Linked DNA regions of Homo sapiens: all the other regions are linked to region 1. Evidence: promoter capture Hi-C in 16 types of primary human blood cells and fetal thymus (Javierre and others, 2016). All regions are on one chromosome and are shown on one strand. Each heading gives the region's core, a stretch centred on a gene start or on the middle of the fragment in contact. The rest is flanking DNA. Distances are from core to core; before and after follow the strand shown.

Evidence for each region. The method cuts DNA at HindIII sites, captures the fragments that hold promoters and counts their contacts. A CHiCAGO score of 5 or more calls a contact.
Region 2: a contact is called between a fragment that was not itself captured here and the fragment with the promoter of LRIT2 in region 1, in 1 of 17 cell types (non-activated CD4 T cells). The highest score is 5.0, in non-activated CD4 T cells.
Region 3: a fragment that was not itself captured here is called in contact with the fragment with the promoter of LRIT2 in region 1 in 1 of 17 cell types (non-activated CD4 T cells); the score reaches 5.3 in non-activated CD4 T cells.
Region 4: a contact is called between a fragment that was not itself captured here and the fragment with the promoter of LRIT2 in region 1, in 1 of 17 cell types (activated CD4 T cells). The highest score is 6.4, in activated CD4 T cells.
Region 5: a contact is called between a fragment that was not itself captured here and the fragment with the promoter of LRIT2 in region 1, in 8 of 17 cell types (total CD8 T cells, non-activated CD4 T cells, activated CD4 T cells and 5 more). The highest score is 9.4, in total CD8 T cells.
Region 6: a fragment that was not itself captured here is called in contact with the fragment with the promoter of LRIT2 in region 1 in 10 of 17 cell types (neutrophils, activated CD4 T cells, total CD8 T cells and 7 more); the score reaches 12.4 in neutrophils.
Region 7: a fragment that was not itself captured here is called in contact with the fragment with the promoter of LRIT2 in region 1 in 1 of 17 cell types (total CD8 T cells); the score reaches 6.3 in total CD8 T cells.

The regions. Positions count from the first base shown.
Region 1 is chr10:84,223,822-84,227,464 of GRCh38, reverse strand. It overlaps LRIT2 (leucine rich repeat, Ig-like and transmembrane domains 2), which reads left to right and starts at 1,921. Exons shown (of 3, transcript NM_001017924.5): 1 at 1,921-2,054; 2 at 2,351-3,132. The coding sequence starts at 1,945. The HindIII fragment of the contact is 7,130 bases long and covers 54-3,643 here.
Region 2 is chr10:84,623,568-84,627,210 of GRCh38, reverse strand. No RefSeq gene overlaps it. Among named protein-coding and RNA genes, the nearest start is that of CCSER2, 300 kb to the right of the region's middle. The HindIII fragment of the contact is 7,132 bases long and covers 1-3,643 here.
Region 3 is chr10:84,605,680-84,609,322 of GRCh38, reverse strand. No RefSeq gene overlaps it. Among named protein-coding and RNA genes, the nearest start is that of CCSER2, 280 kb to the right of the region's middle. The HindIII fragment of the contact is 2,131 bases long and covers 529-2,659 here.
Region 4 is chr10:84,578,306-84,581,948 of GRCh38, reverse strand. No RefSeq gene overlaps it. Among named protein-coding and RNA genes, the nearest start is that of CCSER2, 250 kb to the right of the region's middle. The HindIII fragment of the contact is 626 bases long and covers 1,287-1,912 here.
Region 5 is chr10:84,546,085-84,549,727 of GRCh38, reverse strand. No RefSeq gene overlaps it. Among named protein-coding and RNA genes, the nearest start is that of CCSER2, 220 kb to the right of the region's middle. The HindIII fragment of the contact is 2,326 bases long and covers 462-2,787 here.
Region 6 is chr10:84,518,693-84,522,335 of GRCh38, reverse strand. No RefSeq gene overlaps it. Among named protein-coding and RNA genes, the nearest start is that of CCSER2, 190 kb to the right of the region's middle. The HindIII fragment of the contact is 4,470 bases long and covers 1-3,643 here.
Region 7 is chr10:84,495,662-84,499,304 of GRCh38, reverse strand. All of the region lies in intron 9 of CCSER2 (coiled-coil serine rich protein 2), which reads right to left. Among named protein-coding and RNA genes, the nearest start is that of CCSER2, 170 kb to the right of the region's middle. The HindIII fragment of the contact is 969 bases long and covers 1,120-2,088 here.

The DNA of each region.
Region 1 (3,643 bases), core at 672-3,171:
AGTGGCCTAGATGATTCTAGAGATAGCATGCCAGTGGGTGTGCTTCACAAGCTTCCCGCAAACTTCTTGAAAGTTGGATGGAGCTGGATTCATTTGAAAAGGCTGGCATGAGATGGACAGAGAGGAAATTGTGGGGGAATGGAGGACTCTTAAGATCTTTATCCTTTGGGGTAAGGGGAGAGAAAGGAATCCACTAGTGGTTTGGAATAGTCATGAATTAAATCACATATTTCCATGAAACAAGCCTGACAAAGCCTTAGCAAAGCTGGTAGGGGACTCTGGAGTGATAATTGCTCATCAGAGTTTTCCCCCATCAGGGCAAACTGGCCAGGCCCTCACCACCCTCAGTCACTGAATGTGGGATGTGGCTGCTTTGGGAAGGACGTGACCTCATGCAAGCACTCCTTGCAGCTGAGCATCCACTTATACCTTGAAGGGGGATCTAGGAAGCACATAGCCATATGTATGACAAACTTTGTGCCGATAGCTCTCTCTTTGTTTTGGATTTTTACCTTTAGACAAACACAGTGGTCCCCCCAGGTTTTAGAGTTAGACTGTTTGGAAACTCCTGCAAATATTTCTGGCTTGGATGGAAAGCCTGGAGTGTAATCAGCTTAGCTGGTGACCCATTTCCCCCCTCACTGGTTAGCTAAGCGGATTTTCTTTCCTGAGGCCTTTTGTAGGGTACAATGTATATCATGAGTCTTAAAGGAACTCATGGAATTTCAATATTCAACTGGAAGTGCCCTAGTTAATAGAGATGTAGACTTTTCGGATCTTAAAGAGTTTGTCAGTGGGAGGAGGATTAATGGGCACCAACTGTGTGCTAGGTGTTGTATTTAACATAATCTCAAACTTTTCTAAAAATATGGCTGGATGCAATGGCTTGCACCTGTAATCCCAGTTACTTGGGAGGCTGAGAAGTTTGAGACCAGCCTGGGCAACAGAGTGAGACCCTGTCTCTGAAAAAATACAAAAATTAAAAAATAATGAGAAATAAATTCCTGGAAACACTATGAGGTATTTGTTAATATTCTCATGATACAGAAAAGACTCACAGAGATTAAATTACATTCCAAAGATCTCAAGATTCAGAAGCACAAACAAGAGAGAAGACTCCTTGGGACAGGGTCTATAATAGGTTTGCCCTTGACCCTGTTCCTTTCATTGGGCAAGAGTATAGCTTAAAGCAAATGACCAGTAAATATTTGTGGAATAAATGAAGAGTGAAAGAGCAAGCATATAAAATTGTATACATCTCTTTTTAAAATGTAGGTTGCCCATTTTGATGAAGTGAAATGCACAGTATTAAGGAAAGGTTGTGAAGTCCAAGAAAACAATCTTTTGGTTTAATCAGAAAATACCATCTTGTATTTGAAACTGGTGACCCAAGCTGCAGAAGCAGCTGTCTTGATGCAGTAGGAGCATGACTACACCACCCGTGGTGTTGGGAAGAGAACAAATGATAGGAATGAACACAGAATTACTTTGTTACTCATCACCTATTTTCACTTTGAGAAAATGATTGGAAATTCTAGGTTTCAGGAATCAACTGCAAATGATGAAGCATTAGATGGATTCTGGCCACATCCCCTGAACAGTGGTGCTCAGAATAGCACTGCCTGCTTGTTTCTCAGACTTCTGTTTAAGACTCTAAGAAATGTAGAATCTGTATGGAATTGGACATCTGACTTGGAGTTTGCTTTTCAGACTCAAGAATTACACAAATGTTGAATTTCCTGACCCTAGTTAAGAGACATTGATCCCCCTTCGTGTGTTCTGACTGAACTTGTGGTCTGGGCTGTAACAGACCTCAGAGCTCCCATGGGCTTTCCTGCTGCTGTGTGACTTACATCATCATGGATTACCAATAATAGGATTTGCCACTCGGAAGCTGGGGCGATACTTATTCAAAACTCACAACGTATTTTCTTACAGAGAAATATGGCTTCAGTTTTTCATTACTTCCTGTTAGTTCTGGTCTTTCTGGATACACACGCAGCTCAGCCTTTCTGTCTGCCAGGATGCACTTGCTCAGAGGAGAGTTTTGGCAGGTGCGCTCTGCTGGCCAGATGTTAGAGGGTTATGGGGAATGGGTTTTCTTTGGGGATGATGTGGAGTGGAAGCAGGCTTAGAATTGGCAGGAAATCAGCAAAACTCTATGAGACTCATTCTAGTTGGGACTGAACTTTGCTGAACTGTGCATTTTTACCAAAATGAGTCTAACTCTTTTATTTCAATGAATAATAATATTTTTATTCTGATTCACATGTCTAATGCCAGGATCAGCCTGACCCCACTTTTCAGTCCCCTGTTGTTTATCTTAAAGCTGTTCTGGTTTCTTGTACAGGACTCTGCAGTGCACATCTGTCTCCTTGGGAAAGATCCCTGGGAACCTTTCTGAAGAGTTCAAGCAAGTGAGAATTGAAAATTCACCCTTATTTGAGATGCCCCAAGGGTCTTTCATCAACATGAGCACCTTGGAATACCTCTGGCTCAATTTTAACAATATCAGTGTGATCCACCTAGGAGCCCTGGAACACCTGCCAGAACTGAGGGAGCTGAGACTGGAGGGGAACAAGCTCTGCTCAGTACCATGGACAGCGTTCCGTGCCACCCCTCTCCTGAGGGTCTTGGATCTCAAACGCAACAAGATTGATGCACTCCCTGAGCTGGCTCTTCAATTCTTGGTCAGCCTGACCTACCTTGACCTATCCTCCAATAGGCTTACAGTTGTATCCAAGAGTGTCTTCCTGAACTGGCCAGCCTACCAGAAATGCCGGCAGCCTGACTGTGGGGCTGAGATTCTCTCCAGCCTGGTGGTGGCCCTGCATGACAACCCCTGGGTATGTGACTGTCGCCTAAGGGGGCTTGTCCAGTTTGTCAAGTCCATTACCCTCCCAGTCATCCTGGTGAATTCCTACCTGATATGTCAGGGCCCTCTGTCCAAGGCAGGGCAGCTTTTTCATGAAACTGAGCTTAGTGCTTGCATGAAGCCACAGATCTCAACCCCCAGTGCCAATATCACCATCCGGGCAGGACAGAATGTGACCCTGCGATGCTTGGCACAGGCCAGCCCCTCACCATCCATTGCATGGACTTATCCCCTGAGTATGTGGAGAGAATTTGATGGTAAGCCACATGCACCCTCTCAGTGTATCTGGAGGGAATGGAGAGGTCTGTAGCAAACCCATCCTCATTAGAGAGATTCAAAGCTGGGTCAGTCACGAAGGGTGGGTGCAAGTAAGATTGGGATAGCCCTGAATTATGCTCACTAGAACAGAAAAGATTTCAAGGTAGTGTTCCACTATTGGCATTATTTTAAATGTTTGCATACAGATCTCTTTGCATACAGAACATATACACATATATAAACACATATTTCAGGGCTAATTTAATATCTTATGCAAATATTATAAAATTTTATATGAGCAGATATAGTCTTTGGGAATCTTCTAGATGCAAAACACTGGACTATGTATTTTAGAATTCTAGAATTTTTTACTAGGATTGATTTTAGAGATGATCTATTAGTTATTTCCTTAACTTGCCTGAGCAGAATCACCTGGGGTGCTTGTTTGAAATAACACTGACATAAAATTGTTCAGACCTTATTGGCTTGAATTTGTAATACTGGGACCCA
Region 2 (3,643 bases), core at 378-2,877, 400 kb before region 1:
TAGACCCAGCTTTCTTTTGCTCAGATGTAACAGGCAAAGAACATCATGTAACATAATGGCAGGAAAGACGTACACAATGGAAGTTTTGATTTACATTTTGAAAGAGTAACAAAAAAATTCAAGTGGCAAAAAATACCATACACATACCATTTAAAATTTCCCCAATGTCGCACTGCCAATAGGTCTATCATACAGGAGTTAAATGTTCTCTTTAAATCTGTTTAGCAGAATATAATGTTGCAAAGCAAAATAGGTCTACCAGGAAGAGCAGCCATAGACCCAGAGGAGGAGTGCTGCATGCCTGGCCCGTGAGACAGCCTCCGGGAGGCGTGGTAACATGGTGTGGGGAGTTGCACCTTTCACCCAGCTTCCAATTTCAGTTCTAATCTGCTTAGGAACAATTAGTTCTCAGTTATAAGGAAGCAGTTTATCCACAATCAAGGTTTAAACAATTCCTAAGCCTGAAATAGAGAAAGGAAGAGACTTAGAGAAAGAAAAGAGGCCAGAGAGCCGGAAGGCAAAGAGGAAAGTAAAGCAAAGCCTATGACAGATGAAAGGTACTCTGAGTCCCAAGCTATGCTAGCAGCTGATTAGATGGTCCCTACCCAGATTGAGGGTGGGTCTGCATCTCCCAGTTCACTCACTCAAATGTTAATCTCCTTTGGAAACACCCTCACAGACACACCCAGGAACAATACTTTGCATCCTTCAATCCAATCAAGTTGACACTCAGCATTAACCATCACAGATGCATTACCTCCTTGAAACTTCTCAACAGTTCTTAGCAGTCACGAGATGAGTTGAAGGAATGTACTCAAACTCACAAACCAGGAATTAGTGAGCAAGATTTGAATGCAAATCTGTTTGGCCGCAAAGCCCCAGATTATTTAACTGCACTCTTGCTGGGCACCAGCCTATGTGGTGCCCAGCAGTAAGAAGCAGTTCGAACATGATTCTTTGCAGGGAAATGGAGGAAAACAGTACAGCAGGCTCACCCTCTCTCATATTTTTGGCCTGTCCATTTATTCTCCACTTTACTGCAAGAATCTCATTCTCCTAGTTGCCTTATCATTCTCCCCTTGTCTGGATTACTACTCCCTCATCCTTTTCTCTAGATACATTCCTTCTTCAGGCTGTGCATCCTGCTCCCCGCAGCTCAATCTGCAAACTCCCAGAGTCTAGGCCCTTTTCCCTGCACTTCTCTGCCATTCTGTGCATGCTGCCAACAAAATTCTGAGCTGTACAAAGTGTAGAAGCTCTTGTAATGCAGAACGTTTTCAAGAAAAATAAAAATAAAAAGACCTAAGCCCACTTTACAGAATGAACTACATATACAATTCACTAAATGAAGGAGACTAATATATAAATATAGCTATAGCTATAGAGACCATCCACTAAACAGGGCGGGGGGGGGGGCGGGCAATAAGATCCAGTAAATTTAGGAAACGTGATATACTTTATCTCCTCTTCGTCACGCACGACAGCCTATTAAAAGGTTGGACAAGTCCTCCTGTAAAAGGATCATCTTTTAACCCAAATTTCTCTGGGCAAAGAAGCCCTTTGTAGGATATTTCCTAATATTTCATGGGGTACTAGTAACACAGTAATAATCTTAAGAACACGGTGTGAGAAATATTGGTTTTGCTGATGTGCATAATAGTATACATAATAAGTATGCAAAGAGAGGCTGAGGAAGGTGTCTGCCCTGCTAACGTTCTCAACAACCTCTTCTTCAGGTGTCTGGTTGGCCTGCCCCCCGGTCCACCTCCGGGGTGCATCCAACCCCCATCCATGAATGGACAAGGTGGTTTGAATTCTTACAGACATGGATTCAATTTATGACAGAAACAAGTTGGCTCAATTCTCCGGGCATCAGATTTCCTACTGGTCAAATGAGCATAATGATGCCTACATTTATAACATTCTTGCCATGGCTTAGACCACAAGAATACACCCTCACAGATGTACCACCCCCCACCCCTACACACACATTCCTCACTGATCTGTACTACATTGGACTCTCTCCTCTATCAGGGTTGATATACTCATTGCAGACTCTTTGTACTCTGTGTCTAAAATTGCTTCAAGTTTAGCCTTGCAAGCATTAACTTCAGCAAGTGTAAGTCTATTTCTTGAGCTATTTCCATTTTCTATTTGTTAGTGACAGATGCTTGCAATTACTGGAACTTCAGGAACAAGACTTCCTTCCAAACCATTCTGCAAATATATGCAACAGAACACCTTCTCCTTTTGGCTGCTACATTGGGGTGGAGGATTAGGGTTGTTGACGGACCTACCTTCGATATAAAACAACAGCTTCAGAGCTGAATTTTTTTGAAAATCTCCTCCCTACTTGGGATGTCTGTGCACAGTGTGCACAGTGATTGTGTCCTCTGTCCCATTCTCAAACCCTTCTTTTCCTCACCAATTTGTTTGAAAGATGCGTCTCCAGCTTCACTGGGTTTGTTGTGTCATCCTTCTGAGACCAAGCGCTCCTGGTATACCTGCCCCATCTCACAACAACCTAGGCAGTGGTGACTTAGCTTGCAAAGTATAGTAACTCATTTGCAACGCAGATCCAAAGAGTCACCCTTTGATCTTGGAGAAGACAACATTGGATGTAATTACCCAAAGGGACTAGAACTTGGAAAAACAATCACATTTTTCTTGTTACTTAGAACAAATGAGACCTCACCTGGCTTTCCTGTGATCTCCAAGTGCCAGCATTTTCTTTCCTGCATAAATACAAAGCCTCTAAGCTCACCACCACATGCCATTCTTGCTCTGGCCTAGAAAAACACCCATCCCAGATATAAGACTAATGTTTTAAAACTCCAAACAGGGCCGGGCGCGGTGGCTCACGCCTGTAATCCCAGCACTTTGGGAGGCCGAGGCGGGTGGATCATGAGGTCAGGAGATCGAGACCATCCTGGCTAACAAGGTGAAACCCCGTCTCTACTAAAAATACGAAAAATTAGCCGGGCGCGGTGGCGGGCGCCTGTAGTCCCAGCTACTCGGGAGGCTGAGGCAGGAGAATGGCGTGAACCCGGGAAGCGGAGCTTGCAGTGAGCCGAGATTGCGCCACTGCAGTCCGCAGTCCGGCCTGGGCGACAGAGCGAGACTCCGTCTCAAAAAAAAAAAAAAAACTCCAAACAGAAGGACAGCAGGAGGCCTGGGGTTATGCGGGTACCTGCTTGAATGAGCCCTGGGGCTTTGCCTTCCAGCTTAGGCCTGCAGGGTTGACAGTTTACTGCAAAACCAAACTGAAAGCATCTCCCTTGAGAACTTTGAGCCTCTGAGTAGTAGCAGTGAAGTAGTGTCCGCTTGGGATACAGAGACTGAGATGAAAATGCCTGCCCCACTATTTATTGTCTGTAGGATTCTGGCTCTAAATAGGAGTGTATTTGAAAATGGCTGGCTTCTTCTCTGTTTGAAATCATTCACAGGTGATGCAACACCTTCAGCCACCAACCACCACAGAAGGTGCCTATAAGACCATCATAAGAGGAGTCCTTGTCAAAACGAGATTTAATCTCTCCTTGGTGTAGGAGAGACCTGGAACGGCAGAGCGTGTGTCCTCCTACAGGGAGTGGACTCAACCTCCCCAGGTATTTCTTCAAGGGTTCCTTTTTTCCACTTGGAG
Region 3 (3,643 bases), core at 345-2,844, 380 kb before region 1:
AGGCCACACCTCTAACTAGTCCCCACCCACAGGGACCTGAGATTGGGGTACTTTGAAGTCTGGAAGCCCAGCTCTTTCCATGTGTCCCCCTCTCAGGTGGAATCTGGCTGAATTCCTGAATGCCTGACATTTCACTGGGAGAACTCCAGTGGATGGTGTGTTCATTTTCCAGATAATCCCTCTAGTGTGTGCCAGGGCAACCCAGCTCCTCTGCCACCAGGCAGAAGCTAGTACATTTTTCAAAGCTTTTTCTGCAATTCAGAGAGCCAACAGCAAAACACAAAACCATAATTTCAGTCTTTGAAAATGGCCAGTTGGAAAATGAAATGGGAGGTCATGGGTTTGAGGAAATTGGGAAAAACCATCAAATGCTCTCCCTGCTCAACAAAGCAGCTGAGAGCTTGAGTTAGCTCTGCAGAGAAATGACCAGACGAGGTCAGGTACTGCCAAGCTCACTGACTTGGCCTTTCCTGGCCTTCCTCCTCTGTTAAATTTGGTCCATGAAACAGCAGTGATTCCAAACAAGCTTGTTCATGCATCATTTCAGCTAAGTCAAAAAGGAGCACTCCTCATTCTAACAGATATTAGGACCTATTTTCTGTGCTAAACACTGTTCTGAGGCCTTTCTATATTCTCTCACATAAGTTACATCTGTTTTCCAGGGCTTACACCATATTTTCTATATTCTATTTATATAGGATGAAATTATACCATACAGCACATATTACATATTTAGTGTATTTTTAGTTATATATTTAAACACTTCCATGTTGCCTATGATATACTTTATGTTTTTAGCACAATCCTTTGAGTCAATTATTTATCACCCCATTTTTTAGACTAAAAAACTGAAGCCCAGCAGGCTAGAATAACTTGCTTTAAGTCCTGCAACCAGTAAAACTGACAAACAGAATGCAAACCTACATCCTCCTGTAACCCAGATTTGTACCTTTTCTTCTGTGTCAGCTCTTTCATCTGGTTTCATTCTTAGTCACAGTCAGGGCATAACCAGATGCTGTGGGATCCTGGGCCACCTCCGGGCACCCTCCTGAATCAGCGTGGTCCTGACCACCACCACCCTTTCTTCATGTCCCAAGGGTGGTTGCGTTGCTGTGAACATACTTAAAATCCCGGCCTAAAACTGTTCAGCAAATTGTGACTTGCTCAGAAATAGAATATTACAAAACCCTTAAAAATTATATTTCATGGCCACAGAAATAAATGCTTATATGTAAAACAAACAACAATAACAAAGGACACAATGTGGTCATCATAACATGAGATCAACATTGTGAAGAAATTCACAGAAAAAAGCCAGAAAGGAAAATCCAATTGCTTAATTAGGGGTTATTCCTGGATGAGGGGCTGATGGGTGCCTTTTCTTCTTCTTTTGACTTTTCAGTATTTCACAACTTTTCCACGATAGACATGCATCGCTTTACAATGAGGGGCAAAAATATTTAAAACCTGAGCGTGGCTTGAAAACTGCTCACACTGCCCAGTTTCATGCACACTTCAAAGGGCATGGGGCTGGAGCAAGTCTCCCTTCCACAGAGCTGGCTGGAGCCTCACAGCAAGAGGGAGTGCACCTGGGGAAAACTCCTCCTCCCGGCGTGGGCAGCCGGGTTTGTTGTGTCTGCCCTCCAGTTCTCCATTCTCACGTCGCCTGAATTTCCCTGGAGAAGGCACAGGCTACAGCCTGAAGCCGACCCTTCCTTCCCCAGCTGGTCTGCAGCATTCAGCTCTGCAACCTCCAAACCCAAACCCAGTCCTAAAACATAAGCCTGCTGGGTGACAGGCTTCACCTCTGAGTTTTAATCAGAAAACTCTCCTAGCCCTGTCTTGGCACCCAGGACCACAAGTGACACTGTAACAACTGCACCTGTCTACTCATTTCTTGCTTTAACAAACATGTAAGCACTTTCTAGAGGGGACAGCCCCGCCTAGACAACAAGTTCCATTGGGAGAGAGGGGCACCTGACACCACATTGGATTAGTGGGGAGATCTGCACATTGTCCCATGGGATAGCAGAGGAAGAGTAGCTTCTGTCCCTGGGAAGGCTGCCCACAAACAGCTGTGTCTGAGCGGGCTTCCAGAAAGATGAAGAGTGATCAAACAGAAGAGAGAAAGGTTTGCATTTTGCGCAAAGCCAACAGCATGAGCAAACACACAAGGAGGGCATTTGAGGTCTTTGGCCAGAAAGTAAGATGCTTAGAGCTGAACTGCCTTGTCGGCAGTGCCAGGGAGGTAGAAATTCCTCCTTTTGGCAAATAGAGCCAGCTAGGCCCCTAAGCACAGGCTTGGTCTTAGAGAGATGCCTGTGGCAGTGCAGGAAAGAGTGCCAAGGCAGAAGGACCACTGGGGATTGCAATGGGCATTTTGTGTGCTCAGCCACTCAGCACTTTAGTAGGAATCTGCCGTGGAGTAAGAGGTATATATTTATTCTGCCCTGGTGCAGAAATCAGAAAATGAAATCAGAAATGAGAATTTATGCAAACTGGGTTTCCCAGGGCCTTCTGCAGACTCAGGCCTGCCTGGGAATCTGGCCTGAGATGGCCAATGACTTCCACTCCTGGGAACTTGGCATCGGGAACCAAAAAAAGGTGAATTCCATCTCCCTGGGGACACTGGTCTGCAACCCAGGAAAAAAGAGAAGCTTGTGATTTTACTTGCTAGGCTGACTAGGGCATAGAGGGAGCTATTCTGCAAGAAATTAAGAAGCAAAGAGGGGAACAAAGAGAGGTCACCAGTGAGAACTGTCTGGACTCTGCACGGCCTTTGTCTCTGGGTCCATTCTGGAAGTCCAACTTTAGGCGTTCCTTCCCATTCCATGAGGTTGGAAGGAGAGTCTGATACATTTCTGCATTTCTTTTTTGTTGTTAAGGTTGCAAGTTTAGTTTCTATTACTTACAACCAAAAAGTCCTAAGTTATATAAAGGTTCTTATAAAAGTTCTAGCCTGAACTAAGTCATTGCAGTGGGGTTAAAAGGAACAACGGTTATTTAGACTATGAAGTCAAATGGGAGGAGACTGCCTGCTTTGTCATCTAGCCAATCTCAATTACTCACAGACTGTCCCCATCACATGCCCTCTCCCAAGGCAACTATGGACTTCAGAAAGAGAATGCTTTGGCTCTATGCTACCTAGAAGCCCCCTTTCCACAACCAGGCCTCAAAGCAGACCCGGAGAGGAAAAATAAGCAGGGTCTCTGCCACATGAGAAATGGACAGAGGGCTCGAATCATCTAGTGACTATCTTGGCCCTTGCCTCATTTAAGAAGACAGTTGGGCAACTAGCACTATTGAATCACCCCAGACTGGGTTTTCTAAGGCCTGGGGATAAGATGACATCATCACCTTTGCGGGGCAGCAAACTAACATCAACACAAGCACCGCCACTACCAGCACATAAAGAAAGATGGTAACAAGCTCCAGGGCGGAAGGAGCTCCATGATTGTCCCTCAACGACATCTACACTTCTCTCCTTCTCCCATGTTTGTAAATGTCACTCCAAAGCCATTTCTCCCTTCAATTAGAAAGCTCTTTATTCACACTTTCTCTGACAAGTTTAATAGTTTCATTTTGCAGTTTGGGAAATTTTCCATTAAAAAAATCTTGCTCAGATTTTTTTTATCTGTTCCAG
Region 4 (3,643 bases), core at 350-2,849, 350 kb before region 1:
AAGGCTCAATCATAATACACTATTACCTCATGTACTTACCATTTTTGTGGTGAGAACACTTAAAATCTCTCTTAGCAATTTTCAATTATACTTGTTATTAACTATAATCACCACATTGTACAAAAGATCTCCTGAATGTATACCTCCCATGTAACTAAAATTTTGTACCCTTTGACCAATATCTTCATATTCTCCCTCTCCTTTTTTAGGTTTCACATGTAAGTGAAATGCAGGATATGTCTTTCTGTCCCTGACGTACTTTAACATTATGACCTCCAGTTCCAACCTTTTTGCTAGAAATGACAGGAGTTCATCCTTTTTTTTTTTTGAGACTGGGGGTCTCGCTCTGTCACCCAGGCTGGAGTGCAGTGGCACAATCTCAGCTCACTGCAAGCTCTGCCTCCCAGGTTCACGCCATTCTCCTGCCTCAGTCTCCCAAGCAGCTGGTACTACAGGTGCCTGCCACCAAGCCTGGCTAATTTTTTTGTATTTTTAATACAGACGGGGTTTCACAGTGTTAGCTAAGATGGTCTCGATCTCCTGACCTCGTGATCTGCTGGCCTCGACCTCCCAAAGTGCTGGGATTACAGGCATGAGCCACCGTACCCGGCCTGATTTCATCCTTTTTATGGCTGACTAGTATTCCATTGTGTACATAAGACATATTTTATTTATCCATTCATCCACTGGTGAACACTTAGGTTGATTCTGTATCTTGGCTATTGTGAATAGTGCTGCAATCAACATGGGAGTATACATACCTCTTTGGTATAAGGATTTCATTTCCTTTGGATATATACCCAGAAGTGGAATTGCTAGATCATATGGTAATTCTATTTTTAATTTGTTGGGGGACCCCCTGCTATTTTCCAGAAAGCCTGTACTAATCTACATTCTCACCAACAATGTGCAGGAGTTCCCTTTTCTGCACATCCTAAACAACATTTGTTATCTTTTGTCTTTTTGATTAAAGCCCTTCTAAAATATGTGAAGTCGTATTTCACTGTGGCTTGAATTTGCATTTCTCCAATGATTCATGATGTTGAGCATTTTTTCATACATTTTTACATACACATTTGGCCATTCGTGTGTCTTCTTTTGAAAAATGTCTATTCAAGTCTTTTGTCCATTTATTAATCTCATTATTTGTTGTCTTGCTGTTGTTCGAGTTCTTTATATATTTTGGACGTTAACTCCTTATCAGAAGTGTGGTTTGCAAATATTTCCTCCCATTCTGCAGGTTGTCTCTTCACTCTACTGATTGTTCCATTGGCTGTGCAGAAGCTTTTTAGTTCGATGTAATCCTATTTGTCTATTTTCACTTTTGTTACCTGTGTTTTGGGTGTCATATGCAAGTAATCTTCGCCCAGACTAATGTCATGGAGCTTTTCCCCTATGTTTTCTTCTAGTAGATTTACAGTTTCAGGTCTTACGTTTAAGTCTTTAATCCATTTTGAGTTTATTTTTATATGGTGAGAGATAGGGGTTGTGAGTGCCTTTTCCTTATAGCTCTTTTATTTGTCTCACAGTTTCAGATGATTTGACACCCCCTTTTCTTAGGCACTTGGCACAGACCATCTGAGGACTGGTTAGGAGACAATAGATGTAATACTGATTGGCCTCACTCAAGATTGTCACTCAATACTGGCCCTGCACAGAGTCCCTGAGCCTTGGAGTACTTGGGATTCATACTTCTGTCAGAGCTGCTGGGCTGCTTTCTTCCCCATAGTACACATTGCCCAGAAGGCCACCAGGAGGAGGAGACTGGAAAGAGGAGATGGAGGAGGAAGAATAACAACAGACGATTTGCCAAGCTCTGCCTCATCCCCGTAGTGGACTGCAGCAGCATCCTACCCCACATGGGTGATCTCAAAGACAGTCAAAAATAACCATCCTCACAGCTGCCAAAGCTTTGAGAGGAACATTTACTGTCCAGTTGCCTAAAAGAAAACATGAAGATGCACAGATGTCCAGTCTGCTGACTGTTCAGAAACCACTAGTCACTTCTACTAGTACTGCAGCATTGACCTTGGGTCTTCATTCACCTCTTCCCCAATGGAAGCCAGGGACAGCCTTCTGGTCATTGGCAGTAGAGAACAAGCCCATTAACAATGTTTGGTCTGAAGTGGCTTCTGTTGTGTGGGAAACTTAAAGGTCACAAAACATTAAATGTAGAATATCAAGCTAGGAAAGAGTGCATGTCGGGGAGGCAGAGAAATAATAAACACATTGAATATTTTCCCTTCATGCCTTTCATTATTTGACGAGTTGGAGCTTGTGAAACTTACGCAGCTCCAAACGATCTCAATAGTTATCAGTGAGAGAGTTCTACAGGTATTGGGTATGTTTGGCTATTATCTCAAGTACCATGCATTGCAGGTCTCTAGATTGAACATCCATTTCCCTTGTTCTTCTCTGCTCATTCCAGCTTGCTGATAATTTTACACCCAGTACTTTCATTTGACTGGTATTAAGGGACTCTTCATTCTTCTCTTCCCCAAGTATTCTTCTCTTCATTCAATACGTTCTGCCCATCCTCATGATTCCAGCATTTCATTCAACCATCTGCATTTATTTTATCTCCTCTCTAATACTTTACTTTCATTTCTCCCACAGTTTCTCCAAGTTCTCACACATGGTAAAAGAAGCTCTTTATCTCTTGAAACATTTAAGTCCTTGACTAAAGAAACATGCTCTCAAAAAGCACAAAACTATTTGATTAAATAAACTCTCAAAAATATAGCATTAATATAAATACTTGTATACTCTCATTTTTTTTCAAAATTGGAAGACATTTATTTCTCACTAAGTTTCAATTGTTGGCATACTTAAATACAGCCTACCCCTACCCTCATATATATACACATATATATTCTACATATACAAACATATGTATACACATACACACACACACATATATACAGTCATGCATCACTCAACCATGGGGATATATTCTGAGATGTGTCTTTAGGCCATTTTGTCATTGTGCAGACATCATAGAGTGTACTCACACTAAATGATATAACCTACTATGCACCTAGGCTATATGGTATAACCTGCTGCTCCTAGGCTAAAAACCTGCACAGCATGTTAGAATACTGTAGGCAATTGTAAATAACACAATGGTAAGTATCTGAATCCAAACATAGAACTGGAACTGTAAAAAATACAGTATAAAAGATAAAAATGGCACACCTGTGTAGGGTACTTACCATGAATGGAGCTTGCAGGAGTAAAAGTTGCTCTGGGTGGGTCTCAGATATTCCCTTATAGCAAAACAAGAATGGCTTAATAAAGTTGTCTGTTTATTAAGTTGTATAGACTCTGGATACAAGTCCCTTATCAGACATATGATTTGCAAGTATTTTCTCCCATTCTGTGGGTTCTCTTTTCAATTTCTGGATAGTATCTTTGAAGTATAAGTTTTTCATTTTGATGACATCTAATTTATCTATTTTTTGTTGTTGTTGCTTATGCTTTTAGTGTTATATTTTTTTCTTTACAGAGGTAATCAAGTTACAGTGCTATATTTAATAAACCATTGTCTAACCCGAGGTCATGAAGATTTACCCCTATGTTTTCACCTAAGGGTGTAATAGTTTCTCTAACATTTAGATCTGTGGTCCATTTTATGTTAGTTATA
Region 5 (3,643 bases), core at 375-2,874, 320 kb before region 1:
GGCAGATATTTAATCGATGTGCTGCTTTGATATTGCTAAAGCTTACCTTACGTTCACTACTTTCCTGAGAAATCAAATTATTCATTTCTAGAAAGGTCAAACTCCACGAGGTGTCAGTGCCACGCTCAGGCAAACATGTATGACAGGAATGAGCTGGACAGGCTGGGGAGGGAAGGGACAGAAGCGTGGCCTCAGCTGTCCTCCCTCTCTGCCAGCCCGAGTGTCTCTGGGAAAGGACTTGCTAAATGCCGGGGACTTACAGTTAGCAGAATATGGACTCCAAGGTACCCAGGGTGGGTATGTGTACATGGCCGAGTCTCAGGCCCTGCATGCAGAGGACATAATAGGTATGTACATTTCTCAGTTCCGTTTGGAGAGGGACCCTGGCACTCTGCCATCTGTACCCCATGGAAGAGGAACAATAACTCTGTGGGAATTGGAAGCAGAGCTCCCCAAAAGCTTAGCAGAGAGGAAATGGTTGAGGCGCATATCCTGAAGTCTAAGTGATAAGGCTTCAACCTTGGCCACAGAAAGGTGTACTACTTATTGTCTCTCAGCTCCAAACCCACCCTTCTATCTCAGCTCAGTGACGCTGAGGCTAGGATGCTGCAAACCACGTTTCTGCTTTGCCGGCTGCTCCCTGTTGGACTTTACCAGTAGGGGGCACTTCAGGGAGACTGGGGAGCTGGAGGATGGAGCAGAACTTGCTCCTTCCCATTGGCTTCTGCTCTTATGAGCATCACCCTAGCAATGCCTCTTCGCCCCAGCAAAGGCAGTTCCTTCCTGTAGCAGCAGCTGGATTCATTCTGCAGTTTTTTTCATCCCATCTACCCTCCCACCCATTGCAGAAACCCAAGCACCAGCCATCACTCCCTACTCAATCTGAGTTCCAGTTCCAGGGGCTTTGCCCAAGCCTTGAGTTTTAATAATTCCATTCTCTTCCCTTATTCCTCCAGCCCTAGGTGTGAGTGCTGCTTCCTGCAGTCACCACGTCTGTGATAGTTTAGAGTCTTTTTTATGTCCTTTCAGTTATGGAGTTCACAATTTTATGCCTAGTAAACAATTCTTTATATTAAAATACTCTCTGCTCAAATAAGTGCTGTGGTTCTGTCTCCCAGGGGGACCCTGACTGATATGGAAGGAAGGACTAGAACCAGAAGGAGGCCTTGCAGAGGGCTACAGGAAACACACTTGTACCAAAAGGAGGAGAACAAACTAGGGGTGAGGGATGGAGGGAAGCGGAGGTGTGCAGGTGAGGAAGCCCACCTGCATTGGGCACTGGGGGAGAGTTAGCCTGCAGGATCAGAACCCAGCTCTGCTTTGTGCTCTCTGTGAAACCTAGGGCAAGTTGTTCAGCCCCTCTCTGCCCACTTTCCTCATTTGTAGAATGGAGATGATACATAAATTTGCTACCTCATAAATTTGCTTTGTGTATTTGATGATGGTTTCCATGAAAGCATCTGACCGAGTGCCTGGCAAAAAAAAAATGCTCAGATGTTGCCTGTTGTCATGACCATCATGAGAGGCTGATGGGAAAAAGGAGGGTAGGAAAACGCACAGAAAGGGAAGTTGCTTGCTCACCTTGGACTCTCACTGGGAAGCATCATGGAGTCCCTTTATACACAGCTCCTCTGGAGAGCGGGGAGGTGATCCCACCAGCTGTAGCTGCTGAAGTTGCCAACAGGGACTTGTTTTATAAATGAGCCAAAGATGGCCTCTGTACATTAGCCCATGGATTGCTTATTTCTGCACTGCAGGCTGAGATCTGTTAGCTCAAAAGCCTGCCAGCACCCAGCTAAAATTTTTACACATCCAATTATTTTTAAAATAGCTCAAACAAGCAATTTTTTTATCCATTTAGAGACTGCTAGCTTTGCAAACTCCCCCCATCTCACCCAACAGCTGTCACCTCTTGATAAGATAGGGTCTTGCAATTATAAGGCGCCAAACTGCTAAGGCCCTTCAGAGCTCCGAGCTCAGAGACTCCCCGCTTTGAGGCTGGATAATCATTTTCTACCCTTTTGAAACACCATGTTTACTATGAACTAAATTATTGCATTACTTGGGTATATTTCAGCAATTTAATATTGTCCACTGATATATCCACTTCTATACCAGTACCATATTCTTTCAATTATTGTCCCTTTATAATAGGTTTTAATATCTGAAGCAAGGTTTAATATCTGGAAATTTTTCATATCAAGATTTCAGTGGCTATTCTTCTATGTTCTAGATAAATTTTTTAAATGATTAGATTAAATGTTTAAAAAAGATGATATTTATCTCATAATATTTTACTCGAATAAATGTTATTTCTATATAAACTCAAAGAGAATTGCCACCTTGATAATGTCAATTGTTCTGGTCCCTTCATCCATTTCTTAGATAAATCACTACTGAGGCCGGGCACGGTGGCTCACGCCTGTAATCCCAGCACTTCGGGAGGCCAAGGCAGGTGGATCACCTGAAGTCAGGAGTTCAAGACCAGCCTGGCCAACATGGTGAAACCTCATCTCTACTAAAAATGCAAAAATTAGCTGGGCAGGTTGGCGGGCACCTGTAGTCCCAGCTACTTGGGAGGCTGAGGCAGGAGAATCGCTTGAACTCAGGAGGCGGAGGGTGCAGTGAGCCGAGAGCATGCCATTACACTCCAGCCTGGGCAACAGAGCAAGACTCCGTCTCCAAAATAAATAAATAAATCACTATTGAGGCCTCCTAAGTGCCAGGTACATTTTAGGTGCTGGGACACTGGGCAACGTCAGCTATGATTCCTGTCCTCTCAAAGCTTTGTGTAAACTGTATTTATTTAAAGAATCATTCACAGGCAGGTAAGAGTTGAATTCTCGCCACAGCATGGCTGCAAGTGGTGCTTGGAAATTAAGGACGTGATGAGGGCTGGATTGGGCTCCACACTTCTCCCAGGCAGTGCTCGAAGGGGAGCTGTTAGCGTATGTTCCCTGCAGAGCACCCAGGGCTGCCTCGGCCAAGTGCATGTTCAAATGGAGACAGCCTGGGAGCCTGTTTAATGACTCAGAACGGGAGCAAGATTTGGAGAAACTGGAAATTAAATGTCTAACTGAGTCCTGAGGATTGCGGCTAATGGGCTCACCTTGGGAAAGGGATTGGGATCCCGGCATTTTGTAGAAGTGACCAGATTTCTTACTGCCTTCCAGATATCTCAGGGTGGCCTCTTGAAGAATTGTTGGCAACAAAGTCAGCAAGGCTTAGAGACTCTTCATGGAGGGTGGAGCCCAGAAAGGGTCCACTGGACTCAGCAGCCCCCTCCCCATCGGCCATCTCCCTGCCCAGTCTGGCTGTCACTGCTGTCTATCTGCTCAGACCTAGTGCCGAGTTCCCAGGCAGATCCATCTCCTAAACAGGCCTGTGCTCATGCAGGTCACCCCCAGGGGACAGTCAGAACAGCTTTGCAGGTTCCAGAGGGCTTGTCTTCTTCATTTCTCCCTTTTCCAGTAAAAATTTATCAATGGCTGGCCCCTTGTCTGGCACTGAGAAAGATGCAGGGATGTACTACTGATGGATAAGACAAGGTTGTGTATAACAAACAAAGGAGTTGGCTCCAGGGCACAGAGAGACTGACAACCCGTTAATTAGGAAAACAAGCAATTTGTGGAAGAGAAAACTT
Region 6 (3,643 bases), core at 587-3,086, 290 kb before region 1:
AAAATATATAAAAAGATTAAAAAATGGCCAATAATTCAGCCATTAAGAAGTTATTCTTTTATATAGGTATTTATAAGCATATATGTATTCACATTGTACTACATTCATGGATTCGTAAATTTGCTTTTGTCCTCAGTTGTAATATGAATATTTTGAATAAATATTGTTATACATATTTTGAGTAAATATTCCCCAAGAGCATTAGCTGACTGTGGCATCATCTTGTCATATAAATAATGTAATCATTCTCCTACTGTCAGACTTTTTTTTTCCAATGCTCCACTCTTTTAAACAGTTCTTTGCATGTAAAGGTATGTAAGTAGCACGCCATTCTGTTTTGCATCTCTTTGACTAATAGCAAAAATCATTAATTTGTTCTGTTATATTGGCCCTTTGTACTTTGGTGGTTTGTTCTGTGACTTCAGTAATGCTTCTTGTAATATTCACAAATAGTTCTAAGTCCATGGTCTCCTTTGCTTCCCCCTTGAATTCTTTACGAGCTCTGAAAGGCAGGAAAGCACTGTGTGCTCTGCTTTCCTTCCCTTAGTTGAAATTTTTCTTAGAATGAGAGTAGTCAGACCAAGGACCAGGGTTCTGAGTGCCCAGGTCTGGCCCAAACCCTTTCCCAAACACCTCCTGTGAGCTCTGACTAGTCCTGAATCTTTGAACCTGGTGGAGGCGGCCCCTGGCAGCAGGGAGTTTAGAGCATCTGTGTTTGCATCTCAGCAAAACTCTGGAACACAATTTAAGAAACCATTTGCATTAACAATCCATCACAACTCCTATTACTTTTGTTTTTCATTGCAATTCACATTTGCACTTGACCTACTATAAATGCAAAACCTCAGCTAAAACTTGTGAAAATTTTTTAAATTCCTGATAATTCAGAAGTATTTTGAACTGATACGTGCTTAAAAAGGCCTCAGGTTCGTGGAATGTATCGTTACCACTACAGGTTATGTGATAGTGGCCTAGTTTTTATTTAGCTGTAATTAAAAAGAAATCCTAACACACATGCACATTTGTCAAGGATGAATGGTTTTGGAAGCGAGTTCACCTGTGGTCCCAAACGTCCCCTTCCTGCCCACTGGCTCTCTTACAGTGCTTTGTTTGGGATCCTTCTTGTCATGTTGCAATTTGATCTCTTCAATCGCAGGGTCTCCGTCTCATCCACCTCCTGCCACGAGACAGAAACGAGGGCTGTGCACAAAACAAGCATTTCAACCATGTTTCTTGTGGGGAATAGTTACCTTTCACTTTAGTAGACTGATATTTCAGGTATACTTTTGCTGCAGAAAGCATTTGTTCTGTAATCACTTAAAGTATTACCAAAGGATTATTCATACTCAAAATGGGTGTCTGAATGAATTCATGTGAGGATTAAGGAGTGGGTTGTTTTGAGATCTGGAAAGTAGCAATACCATTTTTCAGGTTGAGAAACCAGAGAAGTGCCTGTGAGGAACTGTTTCTTCCTCTCTGATTTTTGCACAGAAAAGATGCTAATTTGAGGGCTGTGTGCATGGGTGGGTGGGAGAATTCATCAGTGAGGAAAAGGCTTCTCTGGATGACCTAAATTCCTCCTTAGAGACTCCATGGCAAGAAATGGTAGGAAACCAGCAACAACATGAATGAAACTGGAGGTCATTATGTGAAATAAGCCACATACAGGAAGACAAATGTTGCACATTCTCACTCATGTGGAAGATAAAAAAGAAATGATCTAACAGAGGTAGAGAGTAGAATAGTGGTTACCAAAGGCTGGAAAGGGTGGTGGGGAGGTGGGATAAAGAGGGGATGGTTAATGGGTACAAAAATACAGTTAGAATGAATAGGACCTAGTGTTCAGTAGCACAGTACAGTGACCATAGTTAACAATAATTTATTGTATATTTCAAAATAACCAGAAGAGTAGTATTGAAATATTCCTAGCACAAAGAAATAAATGAGGCAATGGATATCCCAATTACACAGATTATAGTGTATGCTTGTATCGAAATAACAGGTATTTAATAAATATGTATAATTATTATATATCCATAAAAATTAAAAATTAAAATAGAAACTGAAAACATCAAGTAGACCATATTATATTTGATCTATCCAAGAGAATGGGATGGAAGGAAAAGCCCGGACATGAATTTGAATGTTAAAGGTAGACTTCAGAAAGCAACATCTTATGGGTTGAGGTTCTAAAAGGGACAGTGGCCTTAGGATAGTCGAGAAGTCTTAAAATCAAATTCCAAGAACCTAAAGTAGAAAGCAGAGTATTTAATAGTGGCTAAAGAGGAAGTTCGTTCTTGGATAAAATAATAAAAGGCCAGGTTTTCTAGGGAAATGAAGGCATGCAACCAAACAAGAATAAACATAATATAGAATCCAAGAGGAGAATAGTGCAAGGGAGTTAAAGCCCAGAATGAAATGAAACTGAAGAGGAAACGTCAAAAGAGACTGGTAGGTTCAAAGGAAGATAATAAACAGGGAATGCAAGGGAAGGGCTCAGTGCTGCAATGGATCGGATGATGTTAAAAATCCCCTAGGGTTCCTAAGCTCCATAAGGCAGAACCTGTATCATCGTTACCTTTGTACACCCTGCAGCCAGCACAGCAAGTGACACAGGTAAGACATCCCATCAAACTTACTTAAACCAAGTTAACAGAGGAAGAAGTCAATTCTTTAACTCATGCTTGTCTTTTCTGTAGGGATAAAATATTTTCACAATGGAAAACGCGCAATCAACAGCATAAATGAAGAAACTGAAATGACTACACTTAATGACAAAATTAAAAGGGAAAATTTTTAGTATAAGAAAGTACTTGCTAATGATAGATGCAGAAGGCCAATAAGGGGGAGGGTCCTCAGAGAATCTCCAACCAGCTTGTGCACTGGGAGAACTGGGTGGAGCCACGGGAAGTTCCAGCCTTGGGCAGGAGGGAAGAGCCTGAGCTCTTCAGCTCACATGTGTGGTGGCCTGGAACTTATCTGTGAGGTGGGGGCCTGTTAGCAGGATTCCCCCCTTGCTTTGCTGAGTTTTTTTTTCCTTTTTGCCCAATGAATTCCATTCCCCACACACTTCAATGTGTCCATGTGTCTACATTTTCCTGGTCCTGACACAAGAACCCCGATTTAGCCGACCTAAGGAGCAAAATTCTGCAACACTAAGAACTCAGATGGCCTTAAAGTTCATACAGGTGTCTTAAGAGGTAATAAGTGCTATTATCAAACTATTAATAAAATTTCCCTCCTTTCCCAGAATTCGTGTAAACATTTTGGATTAATAACATACCACTGCATCAACTTTTTTGTCTCTTATTACGGGACTATCGCATCTGACTAAACTGTAAAACTGAAAAAATATATATTCCTTACTCCTTTTGTTCCTAAAAATTATGTAAAATTTCACTAAACACCTTTCTTGCCTCAAGCTATTTTGTATACTGCTTAAAAACAATGACAAAATAATTAAAATTACAAGTGTTTTCTTCCTTGTACAGCATTCTAAATCCAAGGTGCTAATGTTTCTTGAAATGTCCATTAACCATTATCCCAATATTCTAAGATAAAGCAGGTATTTTATTACAATGGAAACGAAAGTACTAGATCTCTTACAGAATTTGTGAAGACACAACAACAAAATACTGATCAA
Region 7 (3,643 bases), core at 355-2,854, 270 kb before region 1:
AATTAGCCAGGTGTGGTGGCAGCCACCTGTAAAACCAGTTACTCGGGAGGCTAAGGCAGGAGAATTGCTTGAACCTGGGAGGTGGAGGTTGCAGTGAGCCGAGATGACGCCACTGCATTCCAGCCTGGGCAACAGAGCAAGACTCCGTCTCAAAAAAAAATAAAATTTCTTCTTAAATCACAGGTTTTCAGAGGATTAGCAGGTAAAAATAAAGAACATTAGCTAAAGTTAGCAAAACCAACACAGCATTAAAAAAGATTCAGGATGTTGTAATGTGACATGTAGGCCACTGGTTACGTGGACATGCTTTTTAATTTCAATAACTTGTGGCTTTTTAGCTTTACTTATTTTAATCACAGATTATCAGAACTACGATACTCCTGAAATGTCATTTACTTCAATGTCCTCACTTTACAGAAAAAACTTTTTTCAAGAAAGTAACTGTTCAATGTTATACAAAGGGAACCATATTGGGTCTTATGTCCTTAGCCTCCTTACTGACTGAAACATATGCACAAAAAAATCTACTGAAACACTCTTAAAATATCATTAAGGAAAATCAGCCTATAAATCATGATCATACCCAGTTAAATCTGCAAAAGAAATTATGTATATTTTTTCAGACCAATTAATCTGACTTAAAAATAATATTGTATTAAAAATTACGATAATAGTTTAACAGTGTTTACAGATCTTATGAAGGGTCTGAAATGAAAAAAATTTTTCTCACTTTCCGTATCAACATTCTTTGACTCAGGTATAATCAAATACTTCTTTAAATTTAAGGGTGATCCCACATTGTTCAATATAAAACAGAAACATAAAAGATCCATTTTCTATGTTGATGAAGGGAAAAAAAAAAGCCACAAAAACTAAATTAACAATCTTTAGGATATTCTAGTAAATAAAAATCTTATCTTTTGAAATTATTATACTTTTTTCTTTTGCTAATTTGGCAAAAACAGCTTAGAAAACATTGAATAAGGTGATGACCCCAGATGCTCTCCATAGATACTACCTGCTGTTATGCTGTTTGTGAAATGTTTTGGTTCAAAGGCTATATTTATACTAAACAAATTCTCAACCAAATCCTCCCTATGCGTTTTGCAGAACCAAGCTTCTACCCACTGTACTACTAAGTAAAGAAACTTTCAGATGGTAACTTCATAGACATGTTTAAGAAAACAGTCATTGTTTCCTTCACCAAAGAGGTATGTTTACCTTTGCAGGTCTGTGGAAATAGCACTGACCTTGGAATCAGGGAAACTTTTTTTCCTTGGATCTTTCCCAAGCCTTGTAACCTTGAGAAAATTACTGATTTTTGAGCCTCAGTTTCCTTATTTGTCAGATGCAGAGGCTGGACTGGTTCATCTCGAAGAACCCTCTTACTTTTAGTTCCTATAATTTAGTTACTCATATCTGTCCCCATCTCCACTCCAGTAATTTTATAACTCTATTTTTAATTTTGTAACTCTATTTATATGGCATTTAAAACAATCAACTTTGTATTAAATTGTCTCTCCTGCTAGATCATTAATTCCTGAAATAATTTAGGTGAAAGTATCTGTCACAGTACCTATAAGTTCGCAGGAGTTTTAAAAGATATTAGATGTCCCACCTTCTATAGCCTAAAACTCCCCCAGCATGTAGCAGACACTAAGTTAACTATTTACTGATTTAAACAAAATTAAATTAATTTACTGTGTTTATCTAGAGATGCAGCTGTAGCATCTGTCAATCCCGGCCACACACTATAACCACCTAAGAAATTTTAAAACCAAAAACAATGATATCTGTCTTTATTTCCCCAAGACCAACAAATCATAATCTCTGGCATAGGTCTGAGTATAAGAAGGGAAAGACAACCTTGTGAAATAAATACATAAACAGCGCTGCCTGCCACCGCCAAGGGGCACCCATCTATTAGCCTATCAAACAGTTGTATGCCATCAGAGCTTATGCCCAGAAAGACAAAGAATGTTACTCATTTTATTTCTGCCACCTACAATGCGTCTTCCACTTCTCTACCCATCTGTCAAAATCTTATCCAGCCCCCTTAGGTTCTTTCAAACCCATTTCCTAAAAGCTTTTCCTGATCCTGCCTAAATTAATTATGATCATTCTTGTTTATAAACACCCACAGCAATTGGTGGAATCTTTCTTCCTCTTTTCATTACTTTGATTTGAGTATCTTAAAAATTCTTCTATTAAATATAACCACCCTGAAAATAATAGCTCTCTTACTTTCCTTGGTGTCAACTACTTAGCTTCTTGTCAATTTACTTATAGAGAGTAGAAATAACATACTCTGATCAGCATTTAATAGAACAGGGAATTCCAGTTTCAGGAAAAGATGGAGTAGACATACTTCTCCCTTTTCCTGCTGTCAAATACAGCTAAAAACCCTGGGCACTATATATAAAACACAATATTCTGAAAGGTAGAGAGAAAAAGTGAGACCAGCTTGGGACCCAAGGAAAAATATGGTGATTTTCTTTTTGCCTAATGTATCCTAAAATGAGTGATAGAGAAGCCAGCCCCTGGAAATGACAAGGAACACACACAAAAAAAAAATTTAAGAAAGCCTGCACACTCTAGCCAAAGGATCAGGAAAGAGGAAGACTAGCAATGCAGGAAACTTGTATCCAGTAATCTACCTAACACCACAGAAAAACCTGTGGCCCCAGCCCCCATTCCCATCAGAAAGGGAGGACTGGGAAGGCCGGGCGCGGTGGCTCATGCCTGTAATCCCAGCACTTTGGGAGGCCGAGGCGGGCAGATCACGAGGTCAGGAGATCCAGACCATCCTGGCTAACATGGTGAAACCCCATCTCTACTAAAAATACAAAAAATTAGCCGGGCGTGGTGGCGGGCGCCTGTAGTCCCAGCTACTTGGGAGGCTGAGGCAGGAGAACAGCATGAACCCAGGAGGCGGAGCTTGCTGTGAGCCGAGATCACCCCACTGCACTCCAGCCTGGGCGACAGAGCGAGACTCCGTCTCAAAAAAGAAAAAAGAAAGGGAGGACTGGGGAGTGTAGGCCTCCACCCTTGTATGGCTGTGACATTTTCTTATGTACTTCTTAAAATACGCATAAAAAATATTTAAGAAACTTATAAATGGGAGAGGAAAAGGGACTTAAAAGGACATAAAGTTTCTACATGTAGTAGACTATATATAGTTAAATATATATGTATGTGTGTGTGAAATATAATGCCTACAGCAACAACTAAAACATTATTATAAAGACATAAACTCAAAACACTATATATAAATAAAAATAGAATTATTAAAAAACTAATATACAGAAAAGAAAAAACAGAAATAAAGAAAAAAGAAAAAAATAAAATGGCAGACTTACATAGCAAAAATTACATTAAATATAAAGGGCTGAAATATACCCATTAAAAGACAGATTGGTAGATTCATGGCCTAACTATATGCAGATTACAGGAAATTCATGTTAGGTATAAAAATATATATATTTTAAAATAAAAGATGAAAACGATATACCACGCCAAAAAAAAAAAACAAAAGAAATTTGATGTGCTTATATTATTATCAAATAGACTTCAGAGCAAAAAGAATACCCACATATAGAAAGAGACCTCACAAAATGATAAAAAGGTTAATCTACCAAGAAGA